Regions from separate parts of the Homo sapiens genome. Here region 2 is linked to region 1. Evidence: promoter capture Hi-C in human tissues and cell types (Jung and others, 2019). All regions are on one chromosome and are shown on one strand. The core of a region is centred on a gene start or on the middle of the fragment in contact, and the rest is flanking DNA. Distances in the headings are between cores, read along the strand shown. Region 1 holds the start of HPS6 (HPS6 biogenesis of lysosomal organelles complex 2 subunit 3). Region 2 overlaps ARMH3 (armadillo like helical domain containing 3).

The links. The method cuts DNA at HindIII sites, captures the fragments that hold promoters and counts their contacts. A contact is called where the count stands out against the background at its distance.
Region 2: a contact is called between a fragment that was not itself captured here and the fragment with the promoter of HPS6 in region 1, in 1 of the 25 tissues and cell types used here (mesendoderm cells).

What each region holds. Positions count from the first base shown.
Region 1 is chr10:102,062,668-102,067,506 of GRCh38, reverse strand. It overlaps HPS6 (HPS6 biogenesis of lysosomal organelles complex 2 subunit 3), which reads right to left and starts at 2,158. Exons shown (of 1, transcript NM_024747.6): 1 at 1-2,158. The coding sequence starts at 2,032. RefSeq lists a silencer at 1,737-2,406 and an enhancer at 2,617-2,666. The HindIII fragment of the contact is 30,919 bases long and covers 1-4,839 here.
Region 2 is chr10:101,926,921-101,931,759 of GRCh38, reverse strand. All of the region lies in intron 23 of ARMH3 (armadillo like helical domain containing 3), which reads left to right. Among named protein-coding and RNA genes, the nearest start is that of KCNIP2, 86 kb to the right of the region's middle. The HindIII fragment of the contact is 7,411 bases long and covers 1-4,839 here.

The DNA of each region.
Region 1 (4,839 bases), core at 909-3,408:
ACTCGGCCAGCAGCAGTTTGAAGATTTCACTTCGAAGCAGGGGACTGGAGGGGCCGAGGGCCAGGCCAGCATCCAGAGCCCGATCCCATTGTTCCTTTTGCACCAGCTGCCCGACAGCTTGGAGCACAGCTTTAGGCCGCCCACTGCTCAAGAGCAGCTCTAGCTCCAGAGCCTCAGGCCTGGTCCCCTCCTCACCTAGCACTGCCAGAGCTCGGCGATACAGGGGCAGTCCTGGGCCCCCTGCCCCCCAGCCCGGCCCGCCCTGCTGCTGTGCCAGCTCCACAAAGGGTGGCAGCCATCGAGGCTCCAGCTGGCACAGACACTGGCACAGGAGTTCAAAGGGGGGCAGTATTCCATTGGGGGGTTCCTTTCCAGCGGTTATTCCCCCTAACACTTTCTTCCACACATCAGGGGGTGCTTGGGACCTCAGCTTGCCATTCCCATCTAGCTGGAGCTGCAGGGCCCTGAGGGTGGCACCCCAGGCTGCTGTAGGAAGGGCTTGGAAAACGGTGTTGAGCTGGGCTAGCTGGTCTCCTATCAACTCAGTCCTCAGCAGGCGTGCCACTTCCTGCTCCGCCAGCTCAGTCCAACCAGCCTCCTCATCATCCCCAGCCACCAGCTGGGCCTTCAGCTGTTCTAAGCCTCGGTAATCCCGAAGCTCGGTCCTCAACATGGTCAGCAGTGCAGATGGGGGCAGGTGGCCCTGGAGGATGGAGGCCAGAGCCTGAGGTGCCCGGAATGTGCTGCTGTGTCTCAGTTCTTCTGGAGTGAGCTGGGCACCCCGCAGGCTCCGCCGCTGGTAGTACCCGCAGGCCTCCTCAAACACCAGATCCTTGGCTGAAGGCAACTCAACACCCTGTGGGGCTTCCCAGCCCACACAAAACAGACCCAAGGCTGAAAGCAGACGAAGATTCCCTCGGGTCTCCAGCTCTTCCTCATCCTCCATGCCGGGGGCTGGCGGTTCTAGCAGATGTACCCTGTCTGTACTTAGGACCTTCCTCTCCAGCAGCTGCCCACTGCCCATGTCCAGCAGTTCCAATGTGGAGCCCAGCACACAGGCCAGAGTGCCCTGAAATGTGCCTAGGGCTGCAGACCCCCACGGGCCTACAGGTGCCTCCTGCAGGGTGCCCACAGCCCGCGTACCACCGTGGGACTGCAATAGGCTCACAGTGCCCCCGAAGTCAAGCAACAGCAGGCCCTGGGGAGTTGGGGCCCAGGTGTGTACAGCCAGTGGCTCCCTGGGGGACAGCAACCCAGGAAGGCCTCGGAGCAGGGTCCGGAAGTCCCATGTGTCCCCTCGTCCAGGATTCAGACTCTTACTGTAGGAGAGACCAAGCCGTGGGGCAGCCACCATCACTTTGCCCTTGCCTGGGCTCCAGATGAGTAGAACGTGGGCCACGCCAGGCCAGGTGGTGGCAGTGGGCACCAGGAAGAGTTGTCTGCAGGAGGCCAGCAGCCCGAAGGCAGGGCAGTGGTGCAGCAGGACGTGTGTGCGGCCCAGGCTGGTGCTAGCTTCCCCGCTGGGCTCCAGAGTCCGGACGCACACACAGTGGCTGAAAGCGGCTGCTGGCGACCCTGACGGGCCCTCGGCCCGGGCCTGCCGCTCCTCGCACCACACCAGGCGGCCTCGGAGCGCCGCCACTGCCACAACGCGGGCTCCCCCGCCCGGACACAGCTCGGTGCTCTGCAGCGGCCGCCAGCCAGGCCCCACGCCCGCGCCCCACACCTCGGCCAGGCCACTCTCCCACACCAGCACCAGCGCCGGCCGCGCTGGCCACGGCAGGAAGAAGGCGTCCAGCGGGGAGGGCTGGCCGGCCGGCCAGGCCCGCTCTAGCTCCGCGCCGGGCCCTCGCGACGCGACTAGCAGCTGTGGGGCTACCGCCCCAGGGGGTCGCAGGAGCAGCAAGTGGCGGCCGTCCGGACTGCCACGGACTCGGACCGCTGAGTCCCCGGCCACCAGCTCCCGGAGCCGCGCCGCGCCGCCGAAGGCGCTCAGGTCCGAGAGCAGCCGCAGAGTCCCCGAGCGCTTCATGGCGCCGCTGCGCGGGAGCGCGCCCAGGCTTTGCCCAGGTCCAGCCGCCCAGCAGGGCGAGGCCCGATTCTCGGGGGAGCGGAGCAGGGCCAAGACTTCCGTCTCCCGTGGATGAGGTGAGCAGAGGCCGGGCCGAGCGTCGACTCCGCCCCGCCCGGCCGGCTCCGGGATGCCTCCCGCAGTCGCTGGGCCGACACTACACGCCCGCCGGGGGAGGAGCCACGGGAGCGCCCCAGGGGCTCAGCGCCTGGACCGCGCCCGCCCGGGCACGCTCTCGGCGCAGGGGGAGGCCCTTCCCCAGACCCCAGGACGCCGCCCAGTGGCCCGGAGTCCCACGCAGGAATAGGGATTCCAGCCCCCTGAGCCCCTCTCCCAAGAATTTCACCCCAATTTACTCATTCAGGAAATTTTCGTTGAGCACATGCTTTGTGCCAGGCTCTGAGTAGACAGCCCTAAACAAAATAGAAAACCTCAACCTCATGGAGATGACAATCTAGTGGAAATAGTAAACATGGCTGGGCGCGGTGGCTCACGCCTATAATCTTAGCACTTTGGGAGGCTGAGGTGGGAGGATTGCTTGAGGCCAGGCGTTCGAGACCAGCCTGAGCAACATAGGCAGACCTTGTCTCTATAAAAATTTTAAAAAGACAGAAAGAAAGAAAGAGAGAGAGAGAGAAGGAAGGAAGGAAAGAAAACCACTTCCATATCACTATGTGACAGCCTTCTCTATCCCCTAGTCCCTTTTACAGATAAGGAGGATGAAGCACAGAGAGATTACGTAACTTAACTAAGATCAAGCAGGTATTAAGTGGTGGAGGTGGGATTTCAACCACAGGCACTCTGGCTCCAGAGTCAGTGCAACAAATCACTTTATCATATCAACAACTCATCACCCAAACCAAAACAGAGAAACATAATTTAGAAGCACTGAGCCTGTGTACCGACTCTTCAGTAACACCTACAAATTTGTATGCAGGGGTCCTTCCACCCCTTGACTGCCTTTTCAGGTGAGCAGTTTTCCTCCTCTCTCCAAGGCCAATCCCTCTTTATGAGCCCTGCCTCTCCTCCCCGGCCCCTACCTTCCTTGAGAACTTGCATCCATTTCTGTTTCACTGCCCTCATTCCGTCCTCAGCATAGAAATACCCTGTCATCTCTCCTGTCTTGGAATTCGTTCTTTCATCCTCATCTCCCCACTTCCACCTCCATCACTCCCTCCCCTTTTCCTTTCTCAGTCAATTTTCTTGCAAGGATGCTACATTTGCCACCTCCACTTTCTTTCCTTCTATCCTCAACCCACTACTTCCCTGAAGTAGCTTTTGCTGAGGTCTTCAAGGACATTTTTATTTGACAGCCTTCTCATTGAAAGTCCCTCCTGTGGTTTGCACTGCATCTTTCCTGGCTGGTTTTCCTTTCCTTTTATTTTATTTTATTTTTTTATTTTTATTTTTAGATAGCACTGCCTTCAGAGTTTTATTTGCCTTTGGTTCATCTTCCTCCATCCTTTATTGATTGATTGATTGAGATAGAGTCTCACTCTGTCGCCCACGTTTGAGTGAAGTGGCACCATCTTGGCTCAGTGCAACCTCTGCCTCCTGGGTTCAAGCGATTCTCCTGCCCAGCCTCCCGAGTAGCTGGGATTAGAGGCACCCACCACCACGCCCACCTAATTTTTGTATTTTCAGTAGAGACAGGGTTTCACCTTGCTGGCCGGGATGGTCTTGATCTCTTGACCTCGTGATCCACATGCCTTGGCCTCCCAAAGTGCTGGGATTACAGGCATGAGCCACCGTGCCTGGCCTATTTATTTATTTATTGAGACAGAGTCTTGCTCCGTTGCCCAGGTTGAAGTGCAGTGGCGCAATCTCGGCTCACTGCTATCTCCATGTCCCAGGTTCAAGCGATTCTCCTGCCTAAGCCTCCCTCCCTAGTAGCTGGGATTTCAGAAGTGCACCACCATGCCCAGCTACTTTTTATATTTTTAGTAGAGGTCGGGTTTTGCTATGTTGGTTGGCCAGGCTGGTCTCGAACTCCAGGCCTCAAGTGATCTGCCCGCCTTAGCCTCTCAAAATGTTAGAATTACAGGTGTGAGCCACTGTACCCGGCCCCTCCATCATCCTTTAAATGTGCTCTTCCTCCTATATCCTGATTCCACTTTGAGCCCCTTTATTTTTTTCTTTTGCCTACAGCTCAGACGTCTCTGCTAAGCTCCACACAAAAAAAGAGCATCCAAATGTCTACTAAATATTTATTTCTGCCTAAGATGTCTCATCTCACAGACATTTCATTCTCAACATGTCCTAAACATCATCTTCCTGCCCCAAACTGCTCCTCCTTCAGTTGCTCTTAGTTGACATAGATTTCTTTTGTTTTTGTATCCTATCCTCATATTTAGAGTAGAGCCTGACACAAAGTCTCCACAGATGTTTGGTGAAGGAATCATTACGTTTTCATGGGCACATGTTTGTGTGTGTGATATCACTTAGAAAACTTTTCCTTAAAAATTACAGAAGTAGGCCAGGCACGGTGGTTCACGCATGCAGTTCCAGCTACTCAGGAGGCTGAGGCAAGAGGATTACTTGAGGCCAGGAGTTGGAGTCTGTGGTGTGCAATGATTGTGCCTGTGAATAGCCACTGCACTACAGCCTGGGCAACATGGCAAGCATCCTGTCTCTTTAAAAAAAAAAATTACAGAAACAGACCATGGCTGTCTTAAGCAAAAATGAAGTTATTTAGAAGAACATAGGGGACTCACAGAATCTTCAGGAGAAAGGAAGAACAGGTGTGGCAAATGGTCATGAACCAAGAC
Region 2 (4,839 bases), core at 1,459-3,958, 140 kb after region 1:
TGTTTTTTGAGGTAGGGTCTTGCTACGTTGCCCAGGCTAATCTTGAACTCCTGGGCTCAATTGATCCTCCTGCCTCAGCCTCCCTAGTAGCAAGGACTACGGGTATACACCACTACACCCAGCTTCCTTTGATCCATTTTGAGTGAATTTTTATATATGATATAAAGTAAGCATCCAACTTCATTTTTGGGCACGTGGATATCCAGTTTCCCTAATGCCCACTGCTTTTTTTTTTTGTGACAGTTTTGTTCTTGTTGCCCAGGCTGGAGTGCAATGGTGCAGTCTTAGCTCACTGCAACCTCCACCTCTTGGGTTCAAGCGATTCTCCTGCCTCAGCCTCCCGAGTAGCCAGGATTATCGGTGCCCACCACCACACTGGCCTAATTTTTTTGTATTTTTAGTAGAGACAGGGTTTCACCATGTTGGCCAGGCTGGTCTTGAACTACTGACCCTCAGATGTGAGCCTCGGCCTCCCAAAGTGTTGGGATTACAGGCGTGAGCCATCGCACCCGGCCCCCACTGCTTTTCTGAGATAACTACAGCTCAGATTTCTTAACTTGAGTCAGGCTGAATTTGGAACTTAACTGTGATTAGAGATAGAAATGGAGCCTCTCCCGTTTTTTCCTACATATTTCCATTCCTTTTTGTTTCTTAGGTTTGCTCATTCCTCTGCTGTTTAAGAGATAGCATAATGTAGTGGTTAAGAGTGGGGACTCTAGAGTCAGGTTGTCTGAGTTTGAGTCCTTGCTGTACCATTACTTTGGACAAGTTATTTAACCATTCTTTCCTTGAGTTTTCTCAGCTATAAAGTGAGGATAACAATGGACCTATGTCATTATTGAGATTACTAAATGACAATATATATAAAGCATGTAGAATAGTGCCTGGCACATATTCAGTGCTATATACATGTTTATTATTATTATTTTTAAAAATTTGTTGTCCTGATTGTGCAAGTCTGGGAATCTTATCAGCCCCTTCCATACCCAACTTTGTTCAGTCCTTTTTCTGTACTCATCTGGGCTTAGTAGGGACCAGAGACACAAAATAATATTTATTTACAAGCTGACATCAGGGGCAATACTGGAACTTAGGCTGTCAGCCTGAGCCTTTGCATCATTGATGGGAAAATAGTTTGGGTGGGAAGAGTTTGTGTTTTCTATCACTTTCAGTCCTTTGAGGAGATGTCTGACCATGCAACCTTGGCTATATCATTGTGGTAAAAGAATGTCTCCAAAATGAATACACGTATACCTGAGAGGCTATTAACCAACATGTTCTTATCTCTGGTTGGCAGGATTATAGGTGGTTTTATAGGTTGGTGCAAAAGTAATGGCAAAACTGCTATTACTTTTGCACCAACCTAATAAGTTTTCTTTCTTGTATTTTAATTTATTAAAACATTTAGCTGTGAACTTTTTTTGTAGATACTCTTTATCAGGTTGAAGAAAGTCCTTTCTGTTCTTAGTTTGTTGGCTGTTTTTATCATCAAAGGGTGTTGGATTTTGTCAAATGCTTTTTTTGCTTCTATTGAGATGATTTTGTGGTTTCTATTTCTTATTCTATTGATAAAACGTACTACATTAATTGATTTTCAGATGTTAAACCTTGCATTCCTGGGATAAATCCTACTTGGTCATGGTGTATAATTTTTATATTTTGCAGGACTCAGTTTGCTAGTACAGGATGAGCATCTCAGATCTGAAAATCTGAAATCTGAAATGCTTTAAAATCTGAAACTTTTTGAGTACCAACATGATGTTTAAGGGAAATGCTCATTGGAACAATTTGTGTTTCAGATTTCTGGATTAGGGATGCTCAACTGGTAAGTATAATGCAAATATCCAAAATTTAAAAAAAAAATCTGAAACCTAAAACTCTTCTGGTCCCAAGCATTTTGGATAAGGGATATTCAGCCTATGTTTTATGTCCATATGCAATATCTGCAGACCAAAGAGGTATTGCTATCTCATTTTTTGTTCCTCTGATCCTTCTTTACTGCTTTCTTTTGCATTAAGTGAATATTTTCTAAAAAGCGTTTTTATTGCTTTAATTTTTTTTCACTATTTTTTGCGTTATTTCTTTAGTGCTTGCTCTAGGGCTTACCATACATATCTTAATTTATCGGAATTAGCTTCAGATTTATACTAAATTAATTCCAGTGAAATATAGAAATGTTACTCCTATGCAACTGTAAATAACATACACACACAACACCCACTTCAATAAACTTTATTTGCAGAGGACACTCTTTCCTGAGAAAGTGAGGACTCACTAGAAACAGGACTCTAATTTTGTCCACTTTATCATTTCTGGAGCAAGGACTAGATGATAGTGGGGAAAAAGTCTGTATTTAGATTTTAGATACATACATTTCCTTTGTGGGAGATTTTCTCACATGTAGGTGTTAAACACAGCATTTTAGATCCTGCTTTATTCCTTGGTGAGCTAATAGCCCACAGCTATTTCTTTTCCTTTACTCAAAATGTGAGCATTCAGTGCTCATTGGCTCTTAAGGTCTGCATATTGAGCTTTATAACAAAGTACAAGTACAAAAGTAACAGGAATAATATAATTTTGAAAGGACACAGTACTTAGATAATGTAGTCAAAGAAGGAGTTGTTAGGTGTGTTCCTTTATGTCTGGAGTCTTTAGAACTAGAGTCTAGTTCCTTTATGGTTTGTAGAAGACATTCTTGTACTGTGCTCTTTTTAAAAATTTATTTTATTGGCCAGGTGTGGTGGCTCATGCCTATAATCCCAGCACTTTGGGAGGCTGAGGCCGGTGGATCACCTGAGGTCAGGAGTTTGAGACCAGCCTGGCCAACATGATGAAACCCTGTCTCTACTAAAAATACGAAAATTAGCCGGGCATGGTGGTGGGTGCTTGTAATCCCAGCTCCTCGGGAGGCTGAGGCAGGAGAATGGCTTGAATCCGGGAGATGGAGGTTGCAGTGAGCCGAGATCGCACCATTGCACTCCAGCCTGGACAACAAGAGCGAAACTCTGCCTCAAACAAAAACAAAAACAAACAACAACAACAACAAAATATCTTATTGTATTGTATTTTTTGTTTGTTTGTTGTACTTCGAGAGACAAGGCCTCTCTCTCTTGCCCAGGCTGGAGTGCAGTGGCATAATCATAGCTCATTGCGGCCTCAAACTCTGGGGCTCAAGTGATCCTCCTGCCTTAGCCTTCCAAGTACCTGGGACCATAAGCATGTGCCACTGTGCCTGGCTTGTGCCCTGTCTTTTGTATCTCGTTTTCTCCCACTAAGGTAGGGCCTGCCGATTGTGGCCCGTTTTTATTGGCTCAAATTAGGAACTATTTCTAGAATATTGCTCCCAGGAGAAAGGGAGTCAATCTTGAGCTCAGCCCTCTGTCCTGAATCAAGCTACCTGACTATGAAAAAGATCTCTTTAGTGGTTCCAGGTGCATTCTCTGAGAGTATCATTTGAAGCCTTGTAGATATGGGGCCTCACCCTGTGTAAAGTCTCAGATTTTATAAGAACGTGAACAGCCAACCTGAGGAACCTTATAAGAACCTTTCATTATATTTGTGAGTTAGTTGGGAGAGATCTTGTATGTATCTGGTGACCTTACTTTAACTATTGTTTTGGCAAATGATTAAACATTCCTTTTTGTTGGTTAACTACACTGACATTTTCTCTTTCTTATTTTATTTTATTTTTGAGACAGTCTCGCTCTGCCCAGGCGGGAGTGCAGTGACGCAGTCTTGGCTCACTGCGACCTCTGCCTCCCAGGCTCAAGTGATTCTCGTGCCTCAGCCTCCTGAGTAGCTGAGGTTACAGGGATGTGCCACCACACCCGGCTAGTTTTTTGTATTGTTGGTAGAGATGGGGTTTCACTATGTTGGCCAGGCTGGTCTTGAACTCCTGACCTCAAGTGACCCACCTGCCCTGGCCCTCCAAAGTGCTGGGATTATAGGCGTGAGCCACTGCATCCAGCTCTTCTTTTTCTTTTTCTTTTTGTAGTGACAGGATCTCACTATGTTGCCCAGCCAGGTTGGTCTTGAACTCCTGGGCTCAAGCAGTCCTCCTGCCTCAGCCTCCCAAAGTGCTGGGATTATAGGCTGAAACTTAGTGTTCATCCTCTTTCTTAATGAATTATGCCAAATACTTACTTGAGCCTTTTGGAGGTGGCTGGGAAGGACTGCCTGTGTGACTAAGACAGTGATAATGGAGTAGCTGCTTCCTGATGTCTAGTGGTAACTCAGAGTATGGACCTTGAGGTAAATTTAAAGGGCTGTGTTCTGAGCAGACAGTTACAGATGAAATTGCCAAGAACATTGGAGAAGAAATGGATGATTGGCAGTTTGCTGCAGAATATTATAGCTCTTGGTCCCAGGTAGGTAAGTAAATGGCCCCCTGATGGCAGGAGAGTACATTCTCTCCTTCTCTTTAGGTCCACTGTCTCACTTTATTATTTCTGTAAATATGTATTTAGACAGCAGAGGCCTTGGGTTTGCACTTGTGCCATTAGTAATTGATTGGATCTCCTACCTATAATTTTATAGTATGATAAATTAACTTTAATTTTTAGTCTTAGCTTTAACTTTTTATGGGTGTCTGAAGTGAGCCATCTGACATATGCCTTTTATTCTGCTAAGCTTTTAATTAGCAGGACCTACCATATGTTATTTCCAATTTCTTTAGGTAAGCATCAAAATTATGGGAAGAGAGAGATTGAGAGGGGGAGAGTGAATGAGAAGCAGTGTAGAAGAAAGGTATTTCCAGTGGACTCATTCTATAATGGGGTCATAGGGATGAGAAGGGGCTAGAGTCTATATACCAATCCAAACCCTATCATTCCTGGGCGT